Regions from separate parts of the Homo sapiens genome. Here region 2 is linked to region 1. Evidence: promoter capture Hi-C in human tissues and cell types (Jung and others, 2019). All regions are on one chromosome and are shown on one strand. Each heading gives the region's core, a stretch centred on a gene start or on the middle of the fragment in contact. The rest is flanking DNA. Distances are from core to core; before and after follow the strand shown.

Region 1 (7,911 bases), core at 4,451-6,950:
ATCTATGTTCGTAAAATAGATTGGCCTTTAATATTCCATTCTCTTACTGCCTATCACTGGTTTGGGTATCAAGTTTATATCAGCCCCATTAATGAGTTTGAGAATGTTCTTTATTTTTCTATTCTCTAAAAAGTTTGTAGAATATTTGAATTAGATATTCTTTTTTTTTTTTTTTTTTTTTTTGAGAAGGAGTTTCGCTCTTATCGCCCAGGCTGGAGTGCAGTGGCGTAATCTCGGCTCACTGCAACTTCTGCTTCCCAGGTTCAAGCGATTCTCCTGCCTCAGCATTCCTAGGAGCTGGGATTACAGGTGCCCACCACACACCTGGCTAATTTTTTGTATTTTTACTAGAGATTGGGTTTCTCCATGTTGGGCAGGCTGGTCTCAAACTCCTGACCTCAGGTGATCCGCCCACCCTGGCCTCCCAAAGTGCTGGGATTGCAGGCGTGAGCCACCGCGCCCTGCCAGGTATTCTTTTAAGTGTTTCATAGAGCTTGTCTTATTGATTTATAAGAGTTCTTTGTATGTTTTCCATATTAATGCTTTGTCTCGTAATGTATACTGTAAATTATATAATTTATATAATATATATTATCTAAATATATATTTAGATATGTAATTGTATATGTAATATATATATGTAATTGTAAATATACATTATAATACAGGTGTGAGCCACCACACTCGGCCAACATGGAGTTTCCTTATACAGAAATGTAGATATATGACTCTCAACTTTTCTGACTTTTAATTTTATCTGTAATTTTTATTGTAAAAAAACTTAAAAAGTGTGATAAAGTGTAGAAAAGTGTGATAAAGTCAACTTTAAGCATTTTTCTTATCTTTTTTAGGTTTTGTGTACTGCCCAGAAATGTTTTCCATGACAAAAAAAATTATTTTTTAAATTTATTTTAGGCCTTTTATAATTTGCTATCTTTATATATGGGCCCTCAATTAATTTGTTCAAGAATATAGTTTTGGTATGCTGATATAGAAATCTAAGTTGAATTTTTTTCTGAATATATGGCCAATTACCTCAACATCTAGTCTACCCTTTCCTCACTGCTCTTGAATTTAACCTTTATCATAAACTAAATATATATACTTTCATCATAGATTTCAAATATTATATATATATACATCTATGTTGCCCAGTCTTGAAATCTTGGGCTCAAGGGATCTTCCCACCTTGGCCTCCCAAAGTGCTGGGATTACAAGCATGAGCCACCATACCTAGCCATTTGTTTTTAAGTTTCTATTTTTATTTTTTGTGTTTTTAGAGACGGTCTTGTTCTGTCACCCAGGCTAGGATGTCATGGCTCAATCATAGCTCACTGCAGCCTCAAACTCCAGGGTTCAAGTGATCCTTCCACCTCAGCCTCCCAAGTAGCTGGGAGACACCACTACACCCTGCTAATTTTTTTTTTTTTTTTTGTAGAGAAAGGGGTCTCACTGTGTTGCCCCAGCTGGTCTTGAACTCCTAGCCTCAAGTGATTCTCCTGCCTGAGCTTTCAAGAGTACTGAGATTACAGGTATGAGCCACCACACCTGGCCAACATGGAGTTTTCTTATACAGAAATGTAGATATATGACTCTCCACTTATTCAGGGTCTCCCTGTGCTTTAAGAGTCCTATGCAAGAAGTACCTACTGAGGAGGCTGAAGTGGGAGGATCACTTGAGCCTTGGAGGTCAAGGCTGCAGTGAGCTAAGATTGTGCCACTGCACTCCAGCCTGTTTCCAAAAACAAACAAACACCCATATGCAATTGGCTGGAACCTCCAGTCCATGTCTTGTGGTCCAAAGCCTTCCCTAAAATTTATATATATATATATATATATATATATATATATATATATATATAATTTTTTTTTTTTTTTTTTTTAGACAGAGTTTCACTCTTGTTGCCCAGGCTGGAGTGCAGTGGCGTGCTTTCAGCTCACCGCTACCTCCACCTCCCAGGTTCAAGCTATTCTCCTGCCTCAGCCTTCCTGAGTAGCTGGGATTACAGGCATGCACCACCATGCCCGGCTAATTTTGTATTTTTAGTAGAGATGGGGTTTCTCCATATTAGTCAGGCTGGTCTCAAACTCCCGACCTCAGATGATCTGCCTGCCTCGGCCTCCTAAAGTGCTGGGATTACAGGCGTGAGCCACCTTGCCTGGCCTAAAATTTATCTTGATTGGCTCCAGCTTTAAGCTTCAGCTACCACTGGATTGGTTCAGTTTATAACCCCAAGTGTGGCAGGATGTATTTTCCAAAGATGGTTGCATCAATAATAAAAATTGCATCCCCAGGCTGGGTGCAGTGGCCCACACCTGTAATCCCAGCACTTTGGGAGTCCAAGGCAGAAGGATTGTTTGAGCCCAGGAGTTCAAGACAACCTGGGAAACATGACAAGACCCTGTGTCTACAAAATATAAAAAATTAGCTGGGTGCATGGCTGGGTGCAGTCGCTCACGCCTGTAATCCTAGCACTTTGGGAGGCCGAGGTGGGCAGATCACTTGAGGTCAGGAGTTGGAGACCAGCCTGGCCAATGTGGTGAAACCCTGTCTCTACTAAAAATACAAAAATTAGCCAGGCATGGTGGCAGGCGCCTGTAATCCCAGCTACTCGGGAGGCTGAGGTAAGAGAATTGCTTGAACCCGGGAGATGGAGGTTGCAGTGAGCCGAGATCACACCACTGCACTCCAGCCTGGGCAACAGAGCAAGACTCTGTCTCAAAGTAAAATAAAATAAAATAAAAAATTAGCTGGGTGCAGCGGTGCATGCCTGTAGTCCCAGCTACTCAGGAGGCTGAAGTGGGAGGATCAGGAGCCCAGGAACTTGAGGCTACAGTGAGTGGTGATTCCTCCATTGCACTTCAGCCTAGGTGACAGAGGGAGACCTTGTCTCAAAAGTAAGAAAGAAAGAAAGACATAAATAAATAAATTTTATCCCTTATTCTCTTCTTAAAATGTGACACTGGCTGGGCGCGGTGGCTCATGCCTGTAATCCCAGCACTTTGGGAAGACAAAGCGGGCAGATCACGAGGCGGGCGGATCATGAGGTCAGGAGTTCGAGACCAGCCTGACCAACATGATGAAACCTCATCTCTACTAAAAAGACAAAAATTAGCCGGGAGTGGTGGCGTACGCCTGTAATCCCAGCTACTCCAGAGGTTGGGGCAGGAGAATCGTTTGAATCCAGGAGGCGGAGGTTGCAGTGAGCTGAGATTGCGCCACTGCACTCCAGCCTGGGTGACAGGGCAAGACTCCATCTCAAAAAAAAAATTAAAAAATGTGACATTAACATTCATCCTTGAGGTGGGGTCTCTGTTCCCTCCCCTTGATCATGGGCAGACCTTTGCAATTGCCTCAACAGTAAGAATGTGGTGAAGGTGCCACTGCATGACTTCCAAGGACGGGTCCTGAGTGGCAATTCTCTTCAGTCTGGTGCTCTCCTACTCCCTCTGAGCTGCTATAGAGGATGTTCAGCTACCTTGAAGCTGCCATGTTGGAGAAACTTCATGGAAAGCCCACAAAGAGATAAAGGAGAGAACTGTCCAAGCAACTCCAGCTGTTCCGGCCCCAGCGGTTGAAGGCTTCCCAGTACTGACATCAGACATGTGAGTGAAGAAGCCTTCTAGGTGACATCAGGCCCAGCCACCATCTGACTATGACCTTATAACAGACCCCAGGCCAGACCGAACCAGCAGAGTCACTCTCAAATTCCTAATCCAAAGAAATTGTCATTTTAAGCTGCTGAATGTTAGGGTGATTTGTTATGGTGCAACAGGTAATTAATACATCAATGTGTGCTGTCCAGACTGTGAAACTCATCCTCTTTCCATAATTTCCACACACAAAAAGAAAACTTACTCACACAAGGCCTTTCTTGTGGTTAGCCCACAAAAGATGGAGAGATAAGTGATGTGAAACAAACAACTTAAAATTGAATTTGGACATCCCAGTTCTAAAAATCCTTTATAGGTTTACCCCACCCACCCCAAGCAATGCCCACCATCCCTCTCTTACATCCTCCTCCTCTTGCTCTCATCTTCCAACAAACTTCAAATTCTTCTTCACTCTGTTAGGCAGAGCAATTACATTCTCTCAAGCTCTTTCTCCCAAACTCAGCTCCAGGACAACCTTTCAAAATCCAGAGCCCTTTGCTAACCTGCCCAATGGAGTTGGACTTTTCTAGCTTCAACTAGGTTCATCATTTTAGCTGATCTGCCTGTGGCCAGCTTCCCCACATTGGATGCCAACCTAGTAAAACAGTCATCCATAAATCATAAGGAAAGCTAAAATGTATCAAGCACCTACTATGTGCTGGTTCGAGGTTAAATGCCTCGCATGAGTCATCTCATTCAATTTCCACAAAAACCCTTTAAGATAAGGACAATTTGCTGGGCACGGTGGCTCATGCCTGTAATCCCAACACTTTGGGAGGCTGAGGCAGGCAGATCACCTGAAGTCAGGAGTTCAAGAGCAGTCTGGCCAACATGGCGAAACCCCATCTCTACTAAAAATATAAAAATTAGCCAGGCATTGTGGCTCATGCCTGTAATTCCAGCTACTCGAGAGGCTGAGGCAGGGGAATCATTTGAACCCGCGAGGCGAGGTTGCAGTTAGCTGACATCGTGCCACTGCACTCCAGAGCCTTTTAAGACTCTGTCTTAAAAAAAAAATATATATATATATATATATGGACTATTAGTATCCCCATTTTACAGATGAGGAAAATGAGACTTCATAGAGTTTGGGGTGCCTGTGGTCATATCTATAATTGTGAAAAAGTCAGATTCCAAAGCATTTTACCAATATTGCCTAAGTGAGTGGGAGGGAAGGGAAGGCTCTCTGGAGTCGGGCTATGCTGGACAGCGGGGTTCGGAAACTCTGGTGAATAAAGTGGTAGTTGTTTCTATGAACATGGAGTGAGAAGGCCCAATCCTAAACACACCAGTGCTTAAGGCAGCTGCAGAGAATTAAAGGCAATAGAAAAAGGGGAGCTGGATGGCAGGAGCTTGGATGGGGAAGACTTCAAGGGCAGGTGAAGATGCCAACAGCTTCCTGCCTGGAGGACCGAAGAAGGGTTGGGCTTCACTGCAGACCTCCAGGAGACAGATTTGCTTGTTGGGACAGAGTAGGGAGGTGAAAGCGAGGTGAGGAAGTTCGGGGGTGGGGGAGGTGCACACAGCTCCACTAAAGAGCTGGAAGAGGCCGATGGAGTATTCATGAGACGGCTGATCCAGGAAGGACTGTGGCATATTAATATGGAAAAGGCCTGTTTGTTTGTGCTTGGAGAGGAAGGAGCCAGAGGAGAGGGGAGCAAGGTGGGCGGGAGCTGGGGAGAGCCTGCAGCAAGATCTGCAGAGCCCGAGGTGCTCTCGGCCTGGGCCCTGGAGAGGACGTAGGGTAAGTGATGGGGCACAGGCTGTGCGTCAGGGGGAAGGTGCTGGGGCCTGAAGGTCCCGAGGGGAACCTCAGACGGCCTTATGCCTTCTCACAAAGAAACTGGACCATCATCTCCGACCCGCACCCCGGTCGCCCCTCGAGGACAGAGGGTGGGCGCAGGAGGCTGGACCGAGCGGGGCGGAGCTGGATGCCTGGCGCCGGCCTCCCTCCCGGCAACCCCGCCGGTCCTCTCAGGTGACAGCTCACGCCGGCCCCCGCCCCGCCCCCCGCATATTCAGGAGCCCCAGCCCACCCTGCCCGCGAACAGCCAGCGCTGGAGGAGCGCCGGGAGACTCTGCCGTCGGTGCGTGCGCGGACACGCACCCGTCCCCCTTGGTCTCGCCGCCAGCCATGGCCGCCGCTACGGCCTCCCCCCGCAGCCTCCTTGTTCTCCTCCAGGTGGTAGTGCTCGCTCTGGCGCAGATTGTAAGTTTCGCAGCCCCTCCGCTGCCAGGGTCCAGGGTGCGGGGTCTGGAGTCCGGGATGGAGGAGCTCTGCCTGTGTCCCGCGCCTACTGACACCCCTAGCCCGAGAGGCCACCTGAGGACAGCGCCGCGGGCAGGTCCCCTCGGTGGGTGCATACATGGTGCCCATCGCGGCACCGTGAATGGAGGTGGCTGAGCCGGAGAGTCAAACGGGACCCGTCCCCAGACGCGCGGCCCGGCCCGGGACAGGCAGCGTGGGGCAGGAGCTGGCGCCCGGTCCTGGCAGCCCGGGGAGCCCAGGTGGCGGGGCATACAATGGTGCTCATTCACCCGCTGCGCAGCCTCCGCCCCCGCCGCCTCCCAGGGGGCGCCGGCTCCAACCAGACGCCGCTGTCGCCCCGAGGCGGCCTCTCGGCCCTGCCCGCCTACCCACGTCTCCCTTCCGAGGGCCGCCGGGGGCTGCGGGCGCGCGGGTAGGGCAGAGACTGGGCCCGGTCGGGTGCTGGGTGTGGTTTCGAGCTCGCCTGCGGGGCGCCAGCCTGGCACTTCGCGGCCTGGGGAGGTCGTGGGCACCGGGACCCCTGCCTGGGTCCGAGCTGGCCTCTTAAAAGGGCCGCCTTTTAAGATCTCTGATCTGTTCAGAGATGGGCAGCAGGATGGAGACTCTCCAGCTGTGAGCTCGCCTCATCTTGATATGACTTGTGACCTCCCTGAAACCTCACACCCACCCAGGGGCATTGAATTGCAGGCAAACGGGATCCAGAGAGAGGGTCTGCTTTCTGGGAGGTGCCGGCTCCTCCTGCTCCCCTGCAGCAGTCAGGGCTTAGCAGAGGGAGGACCGGGCAGCTGTGCTGCCGAAGGGGCGCTCCGAGTGGGAAGATAGTACCCGCTTCACCTCCCTACACCTCCTTTCTCTGCGCCTCCCCCACTTTCCCGTCGGGTTTTCCCGCACCATGGGGAGAGGAGGAGGCGCTGTCTCTGCCTGTCGTTCACGTAAGAACAACAACCCGAGCCACCGCTCACTGAGGGCCGGCAGCCTGCTAGGCACAACCTTACATTCCATCTGTGATTTATTTGAGCTGTCCACGTCTCCATCTATTCCCCACCGCGACCGCGCAAGGGCAAACTGGCACAGTGGAAGGAGTCGGGCAGATCCAGGGCGGACTCCTGGCGCCGCCGCCCACTCTCAGTGACCATGGACCCTTCACGTTCTGAGCCAGTTTCTTCGACTGCAAACTGGGGCCCGTAATAGCGCCCGCCTCCCGGTTCTGAGTATTCTGTAAGATAATGAATGCATGTAATGGCACACAGTGCCTGCTATACAGAAGATTCTCAATACGTGGGAGTTCGCGGAAGAGCTGCGCCCCTAGGACCCCGCTCCCAGGGTCGCTTGCAGCCCCGGGGACGCCCAGCTTCCTGCACTGTCTGAGGACTGCCCCACCCCGTGTGTGTTTTTCAGAGAGGTCCACCGGGAGAGCGGGGCCCCCCGGGTCCCCCGGGACCGCCGGGAGTGCCTGGATCCGACGGCATCGACGTAAGTCTCTAACCTGAGACCAGGGCGGGAGGGAGGCGGCAGACAAAGGAGAACTTTGTGAGCGCTGTGGTGGGGGTGGGGACTTCGGGGTGCCCGGAGATGTAGTGCCCCTCGTCGCCAATAGGCGGCGCCGGCCCGCACCACAAGGACGCCGTTTGTTCTGCAAAAACCTCAAACCAGCCCTGACATGCGGAGCCCGTTATAGCCGCCGACAGACAAGGAGCTGCTGTTCAGTCCGCCGGCCGCAGCTCACAGCGAGGCCTCATCCCCCTCCTCTCCTTTCCCCTCCTTGTGGGGTAGGAGGCGACTCAACCCCTCACCCTGCCTCTGGCACATCTGGACGCTTCTTCAGGTTCGCTTGGGAGCCTTGGCCAGACCACCGACCAGCTTGGGCCAGACTCCTGTCTCTTCCCTTCGGTTTTCTCTCCCCGATTTAGAATCAGCTGGGCTTGTTCCCTGCAGGGTGAGGGTTAAATACCTCATTCTGAAAGCTCCCGCAGGAGGGCCGCTTGATG
Region 2 (7,911 bases), core at 2,983-5,482, 270 kb after region 1:
TAAAGTTTTTCTGCTTTTATTTAAAAAACAAAACAAAACAAAAAAAAACAGGCTGGGCGCGGTGGCTCACGCCTGTAATCCCAGCACTTTGGGAGGCCGAGGCAGGCGGATCACAAGGTCAGGAGATCGAGACCATCCTAGCTAACACTGTGAAACCCCGTCTCTAATAAAAAAAATTAGCCAGGCACGGTGGCAGGGGCCTATAGTCCCAGCTACTCAGGAGGCTGAGGCAGGAGAATGGCATGAACCCGGGAGGCGGAGCTTGCGGTGAGCCAAGATCGCGCCACTGCACTCCAGCCTGGGCGACAGAGTGAGACTCCATCTCAAAAAACAAAAAAACAAAACAAAAAAACCCCAAACAAACAAAAAACAGGGTCTGGCTCTATTGACCAGGCTGGAGGGCAATGGTGTGTTCACAGCTCACTGCAGCCTTGACCTCCTGGCTTCAGCCTCCTGAGTAGCTGGGACTACTGGGACTATAACTACATGCCACCATGCCTGGCTTTTGTGTGTGTGTGTGTGTATGTGTGTGATAGAGACAGAGTCTCACTATGTTGCTCAGGCTAGTCTCAAACTCCTGGGCTCAAACAGTCCTCTTGCCTCAGCCTCCCAAAATGCTGGGATTACAGATGTGAACCATGACAGCCAGCCTATATTTTTAAAAGTTTTATTATGGGAATATCCAGTTGGATTAGGGAAAGTTAAATTATCAGCCTATTCTTGCAGATTTTTCTTCACAGAATGTTGTTGCTACGGTTCTGAATTACATAAATTACTACATGCTCTGAGAGTTCAGAGGAAATCAATGAGGACTGGCGGTAGCTTGGTTTCAGGAGGGAAGTGAGGCATCTTGAAGAGGCAAGAGAAAAAAGGGAAGCCATTCCAGAGCAAGTCAAAAGCAAAAAAGGAGACCAAGCAGGCTATGTACAGAAAATGTGAGTGGGTTAGCCTGCATGGAACATGGAGTATTATAGGGAACAAGGATGCATGAGCAAGCTGGGCCAGATGATGGAGGGCACTGAAAGCCAGGGAAAATTTAAATTTGACGTTGTGATCAATGTGAAGCCATTCAAGGGTTTTGAGTGAAAGAATAATATGATGAAAGCAAAGAGCTTACAAGTACTGTCTGATAAACAGAATGGGATGTGGAGACAAGTGATGATATTAGGGTCTAGAAAGTTAGGTTAAAAGCTGTTATTCATCTAAAATAATGCTACTACAAAAGATATTTGTATTTATTTATTATTACTGTAATTTTTTGAGATGGAGTCTCACTCTGTTGCCCAGGCTGGAGTGTGATGGCATGATCTCAGCTCACTGCAACCTCCACCTTCCAGGTTCAAGCGATTCTCCTGCCTCAGCCTCCCGAGTAGCTGGAACTACAGGCATGCACCACCACGCCCGGCGAATTTTTGTATTTTTAGTAGAGACAAGGTTTCGCCATGTTGGCCTGGCTGGTCTCGAACTCCTGATCTCAGGTGATCCACCTGCCTTGGTCTCCCCAAGATATTTCAAAGGAAAAAAATCCACAATATTTGGTGTTTAACCAAATATTGGAACAAAATGAAAAGAATCAATTAACCTGTAAATAATCATCTTTAGGCAATTAAGAGACCAGCACCTGAATTAAGTGCTGTACAGAATATAAAAGAAAGGTAAAATAGTCTCCCTGTCCTAAGGGAGTCTAGCAGGAGAGACAAAGCTACCTTCTATCGACTCACTGGCTCTCAGGATTAGAGGGATTCTAGAAATCATCTTGTAAAAACACCATCTTATGCCAGAACAGTCCTTTCAATTAGCAATTAGTCAGGCAGCCTCTGCTCAAACACCTTCAGTGATGGAGAACCCGAGACTTCTGGAGGCAGTCCATTCCATTCAGACAGCTCAAAGTATTAAAAAGTTCTTCCTTATATGGAGGCAAATCTGCCTCCCTGCAACTTCCACCCACGAATCTTGGTTCTGCCCTAGGAGGTCATATGAAACAAGTGTGCATTAAACTGAGAACAAGTACTAACTGTATGGTACTGACTGTGAGCACAGCAGCATTCAGAGAAGGGAGGCAAAGATGACTCCTGATTTGCAAATATGGGGGCCTTAAGAGAATAATGACATTATAGGCAGAAATGGGTTGTGGCATGTTCTAGTTAGGGCAACAAGATGAGGTCAGTTTTGGATATGCTGAGTTTGAAAAGAAGACAAAGCTTCTAAGTGGAAATGACTAGTGAGTATTTAGAAATAAAGCCTAGGAAAGAATCAAGACTGGAGATAATGTTTGCAAATCATTGGCAAAGAACTGTCATGAAGTCATGAGAACAGACAAGCTTTTGGAGGGATATCATGCAGAGTAAAAAGAAACTATGAGCTTGATTCTCCAGCAATGTCTATTGTGGTTTGAAACCAAAAAACCAGGCCTGGCGCAGTGGCTCAGGCCTGTAATCTCAGCACTTAGGGAGGCTGAGGCGGGTAGATAACCTGAGGTCAAGAGTTCGAGACCAGCCTGGCTAAAATGGCGAAACCTCGTCTCTACTAAAAATACAAAAATTAACCAGGCATGGTGGTGCATGCCTGTAATCCTAGAAATCATCTTGTAAAAACACCACCTTCTGCCAGAACTGAGGCACAAGAATCTCTTGAATCCAGGAGGCGGAGGTTTGCAGTGAGCCGAGATCGCGCCACTGCACTCCAGCCTGGGCGACAGAGAGACACTCTGTCTCAAAAAAAAAAAAAAAAAAAAAAAAAATTAGAAATGGCTAGTGATTCCTGCCAAAGCTGCTTCACACTCTTATACTTCTAACAACTTAACCCAATTCCTTCTGCCTATTCAAGGAAGTCATTCAGAAGTAAATGGAACCAGGTTATGCGTGCAGTTCTTGTTGCATCCCACCAGGCAATTAAGACAGTAGCATGAATTTCTACTTGAGTAGGAAGTTGCTATGCTTGAAATGTTTTCTACTTTGTCCCACAGTTGTTTTTCTAAGTCATCATCCTTAGGTAAAATTGAAAATAAAGCACCCATACAAATCAGCCTGTCTACTATGGTAGCCCAATTGATTTGCTTCAAAATGCTTCTCTTAATTTTGTAATCCTGTTCCTGAGGTTTTATCCTAAGAAAGTAAATCATAATGTGAGAAAAGTGATAAGCATGGAGATGTTTGCTGCAATGTTAGATCTATTGATCTATCTATATCTATCTTGGACTTCTAATTATAGGGGAATAGCTAAATGAAGTGTGGAAAAAAACTTGAACGCAAAATTTACAATATTTGTCACATTTGGGTGATGGGTTTTTGACAATTTCTACCTGTTTTCCAAACTTTCTTTTAACATATAATATTTTATAATAATAATAAAAATCTCTACTTGACTATCCCTTCTAAATTACCACTAAACTATGTAGTAGTTAGTTCTACTTCTAATGAATTCTTATCACGAGGTTTTAACATGTCACAAAGTAAAACCTACACATGCTACCAGAAGATACAAGTTGGCTTGTTTAACACAGAAACCAAATAACAGGCACCACTTTGCCCCAGTAAAGATGCCATTTAGGCCAGGTGCAATGGCTCATGCCTGTAAGGCCAGGTGCAATGGCTCATGCCTGTAATCCCAGCGCTTTGGGAGGCTGAGAAGGGCAGATCACCTGAGGTCAGGAGTTCGAGACCAGCCTGGCCAACATGGCAAAACCCCGTCTCTACTAAAAATACAAAAATAAAAAAATTAGCCAGGCGTGATGGTGGGTGGGTGCAATGGCTCATGCCTGTAATCCCAGCTACTCAGGAGGCTGAGGCAGGAGAACTGCTTGAACCCGGGAGGCGGAGGTTACGGTGAGCCAAGACAGAGCAAGACACCATCTCAAAAAAAAAAAAAAGATGCCATCTAAATCTAACCCAAATCAGGAGCCACTGTTCTTCTCTAAGCATTTGGTTTCACTGATTAAACCAATGACATTTAGTGCCTGAGTCACTGCCACCCGAGGTTTAGATTTTAAAAGAAAGGCCTATCTTCTACGGAGGGAAGGAATCCAACCCAACATCAACACCTGTCTCCTGTTCCCTCCTTACACATGTCCTCTACCTGAAACTCCAGGAGTGAGTAAAGTTAGTGTATAAAGTGAAATTAGACTTGGGAACTAGCTGTTTCAATGTCTGGAGCAAACAGGTAACTTTGTGTGGTCATGGGTTCTCTTCTCTCCTACGTTCAAAGAATATTATGAAGACTAATTGCACAGAGCACTCGGCAGTCCCTTTCTACTTCTACATGTTTTATAGCGTGTAAGGGAAAACTGCATTGGCTGATTTCAGCCTGAATAGTTGCTTTAATAAAACAGCATTTCCCACTCTAATATATAAAGATGGATTCAAGGATGACGTTTGTCCTTAGCCATGATTCATCTACAAGTAGGAATATGGAAAGACTGTAAGTCTATAATTAACTAAAGTATAGGAATTTCAATGCCCTCTGGAGGAAAAAACAAAACAAAACAAAGCAAGTCTGCTCCTTCCATTAAACATTTCAACTATTTTCCAGCCAAATGGAAAAGTTTGGCACAAAAGGTCTGGTAATACAAGGCAAACAAAGCAGCACTGTAGCTGAGGCATATTTTTAGAACTTTGTTTTTATCAGGTTAACATATAGTACATCAAGAAATAATTTCATGGTGAATGCTGTAGCTGCATTAATTTAAAATTATGAAACTACAGTCATGCATTACATAATGACATTTTGGTCAATGGATGGACCACAAAATCAACAGTGGTCCCATAAGATTATATGGGATTATATGGGGATTAATCAACACAAAATCCCATAAGATTATAATACCCTATTTTTACTGTACTTTAAAAATGTGGCCGGGCGCGATGGCTCATGCCTGTAATCCCAGCACTTTGGGAGGCCAAGGCTAGCAGAACACAAGGTCAGGAGTTTGAGACCAGCCTGGCCAATATAGTTAAACCCCATCTCTACTAAAAATACAAAAATTAGCTGGGCGTGGTGGTGCGCACCTGTAGTACCAGCTACTCAGGAGGCTGAGGCAGAAGAATTGCTTGAACCCAGGAGGCGGGGGTTGCAGTGAGCCAAGATCGTGCCACTGCACTCCAGCCTGGGCGACAGAGTGAGACTCCGTCTCAAAAAAAAAAAAAAAAAGTTTAAATAAACAAATACTTACACTGTGTTACAAACTGCCTACAGTATTAGATACAGTAACATACTATACAGGTTTGTAGCCCAGGAGTAATAAGTTACACCATGTGCAGTATCATCTAAATTTGTGCAAGTACACTCTATGATGTTCCCACAATGATGAAATCACCTAATGACAAATTTCTCAGAATGTACCTGTCATTAAGCAACACATGACTGTATAATTTTATCAACTAAAATAAATGTGAATAACTCCATAAACTATATGCAACTTTAGTGTTTGTTTGTTTTTTTTTGTTTTGTTTTGTTTTTTTGAGACGGAGTCTTGCTCTGTCACCCAAGCTGGCGCAGATCATGCAGTGGCACGATCTTAGCTCACTGCAACCTCCACCTCCCCGGGTTCAAGTGATTCTCCTGCCTCAGCCTCCCTAGTAGTTGGGATTACGGTACATGCCACCACACCCAGCAAATTTTTGTAATTTTAGTAGGGACGGGGTTTTACCATGTTGGCCAGGCTGGTCTCGAACTCCTGACCTCAGGTGATCCACCCGCCTTGGCCTCCCAAAATGCTGGGATTACAGGCGTGAATCACCACGCCCAGCCTATATGCAACTTTAAAATAAATGATAGTCCCTGTCCACTAAAACCAAGCACTCTAAATACAAGGAACACAAACAAAACAGGAATTCACACAATTTTCAATAGAGAGGGAAATCTGCTGACTTACACCATCAACAAGAAGCTTGCTTCTAGTACTCAAACCAATGGCACTTCTCTTAAGATCACATCTGCCAGGTGTGGTGGCTCATGCCTGTAATCCCAGTGACTCAGGAGACTGAGGCCAGAGAATCACCTGAGGCCAGGGGTTTAAGACCAGCCCAGGCAACATAGCAAGACCCTGTCTCTGAAAAAAATCAAACATTTGGCCGAGCGCATGGTGGCTCATGCCTGTAATCCCAGCACTTTGAGAGGCTGAGGTGGGTGGTTCCCTTGAGGAGTTCGAGACCAGCCTGGCCAACATGGCAAAACCCTGTCCCTACTAAAAATACAAAAATTAGCTGAGTGTGGTGGTGTGTGCCTCTAGTCCCAGCTACTCAGGAGGCTGAGGCAGGAGAACTGCTTGAACCCGGGAGGGGGAGGTTGCAGTGAGCCAAGATCACGCCACTGCACTCCAGCCTGGGCGACCGAGCAAAACTCCATCTCAAAAAAACAAAAAACAAAAGAAAGAAAAAGAACTGTAGTCCCAGCTACTCAGGAGGCTGAAGCGAGAAGATTACTTGAGCCCAAAAGTTGGAGGTTGCAATCAGCCATGATTGCACCATTGTACTCCAACCTGCCCACCCAGAAATTCCTTGAAGGAACAGTAATTTCTTGAAGCTTCAACAGAAACAAATGATTCATTCATTGTAGGATACTGAGTGCTTATCATGTACCATCGACTGTGCTAAGTATGGCTATGGGGCCTGCCCTCACAGAATTTAGTTGGGGACATTGTACAATCATAGCTACGATACTTTCTAACGCAGCAATTCTCAACCAGGGGCAATTTTGTCCTCCAGGAGACATATGGCAATGTCTGAAGACATTTTTGGTTGTCACAACTGAGGAAGTCTTATTGGCATCTACTGGGTAGAGACAGATGCTGCTTAACATCCCACAGTGCACAGGACAACTCCATAATAAAGAATTATATGGCCAGGCGCGGTGGCTCACACCTGTAATCCCAGCACCTTGGGAGGCCGAGGCGAGCAGATCACGAGATCAGGAGATCAAGACCACAGTGAAACCCCGTCTATACTAAAAATACAAAAAATTAGCTGGGCCTGGTGGCGGGCGCCTGTAGTCCCAGCTACTCGGGAGGCTGAAGCAGGTGAATGGCGTGAACCCGGGAGGCTGAGCTTGCAGTGAGCCGAGATTGTGCCACTGCACTCCAGCCTGGGTGACAGATAGAGACTCTGTCTCAAAAAAAAAAAAAAAAAAAAAAAAAAGAATTATATGGCCCAAAATGTCAATTGTGCCAACGTTGAGAAACCCTGTTCTAATTTAATAAGGAGCATAGGGAGGTGCAAAAGGTTAAGTAAAATGCTAGTTCACGACTTTCTAAATTAGAAAGTCAACCTGTATCATCTAATAAAAATTAAGATAAGGGTCTAAACTGTAGAGAATTCTGTAAGATGGAAAAAAGAGTTCAGAATTTATTCTTTGTAAATATGAAGTCAGTGAAGACTAACAAGATGAAAAATGCTTCTTCTTAGAGAACTTTAAAAAGATTTGTCTGGTTGTCATAGAGAAACTGAAGTATAGGTCATGAAAGCCAGGTTAGCACAAATAAAGAAAGAAACTGATGTCAACATTTCAAAGTAATAATCACTAAAATTGGGTAAGATACCGCTCGAGAACTCTCATATTTCAAATCTCAGCATTAAATTTCAAACCAGAGGTTCGGCTTCCAGTGACACATTGCATTTGCTTAAGTAAAAAAAAATTTGATTCACAATGCTTCACAAAAAACTGAAAGGAGGAAGTCACCTTTTTTTTTTCTGGTAGAGACAGGGGTCTCACTATGTTGACCAGGCTAGTCTCTAACTCAGCCTCAAGAAAGTCACTTTTTAAAAGCTAAAAAAATAACTGCAACCAGGAAAAAGGGTGAGAATAAAAGATCATCCCTAGGTTGGAAACAAAACATTTTACAGACTCAATAGCTAAACTCCAAAGCAAAAATATACTCACTGAATCTTAACAATATCACCACTTTTGGTTTGCACATCA

What was found. Contacts are between HindIII fragments. The study calls those that stand out against the background at their distance.
Region 2: a fragment that was not itself captured here is called in contact with the fragment with the promoter of COL9A2 in region 1 in 1 of the 25 tissues and cell types used here (bladder).

What each region holds. Positions count from the first base shown.
Region 1 is chr1:40,315,075-40,322,985 of GRCh38, reverse strand. It overlaps COL9A2 (collagen type IX alpha 2 chain), which reads left to right and starts at 5,700. Exons shown (of 32, transcript NM_001852.4): 1 at 5,700-5,863; 2 at 7,322-7,396. The coding sequence starts at 5,789. RefSeq lists enhancers at 5,569-6,205, 6,206-6,842, 7,626-7,885 and silencers at 6,016-6,525, 7,286-7,385, 7,396-7,455. The HindIII fragment of the contact is 32,999 bases long and covers 1-7,911 here.
Region 2 is chr1:40,044,008-40,051,918 of GRCh38, reverse strand. All of the region lies in intron 1 of CAP1 (cyclase associated actin cytoskeleton regulatory protein 1), which reads right to left. Among named protein-coding and RNA genes, the nearest start is that of CAP1, 7.2 kb to the right of the region's middle. The HindIII fragment of the contact is 3,941 bases long and covers 2,262-6,202 here.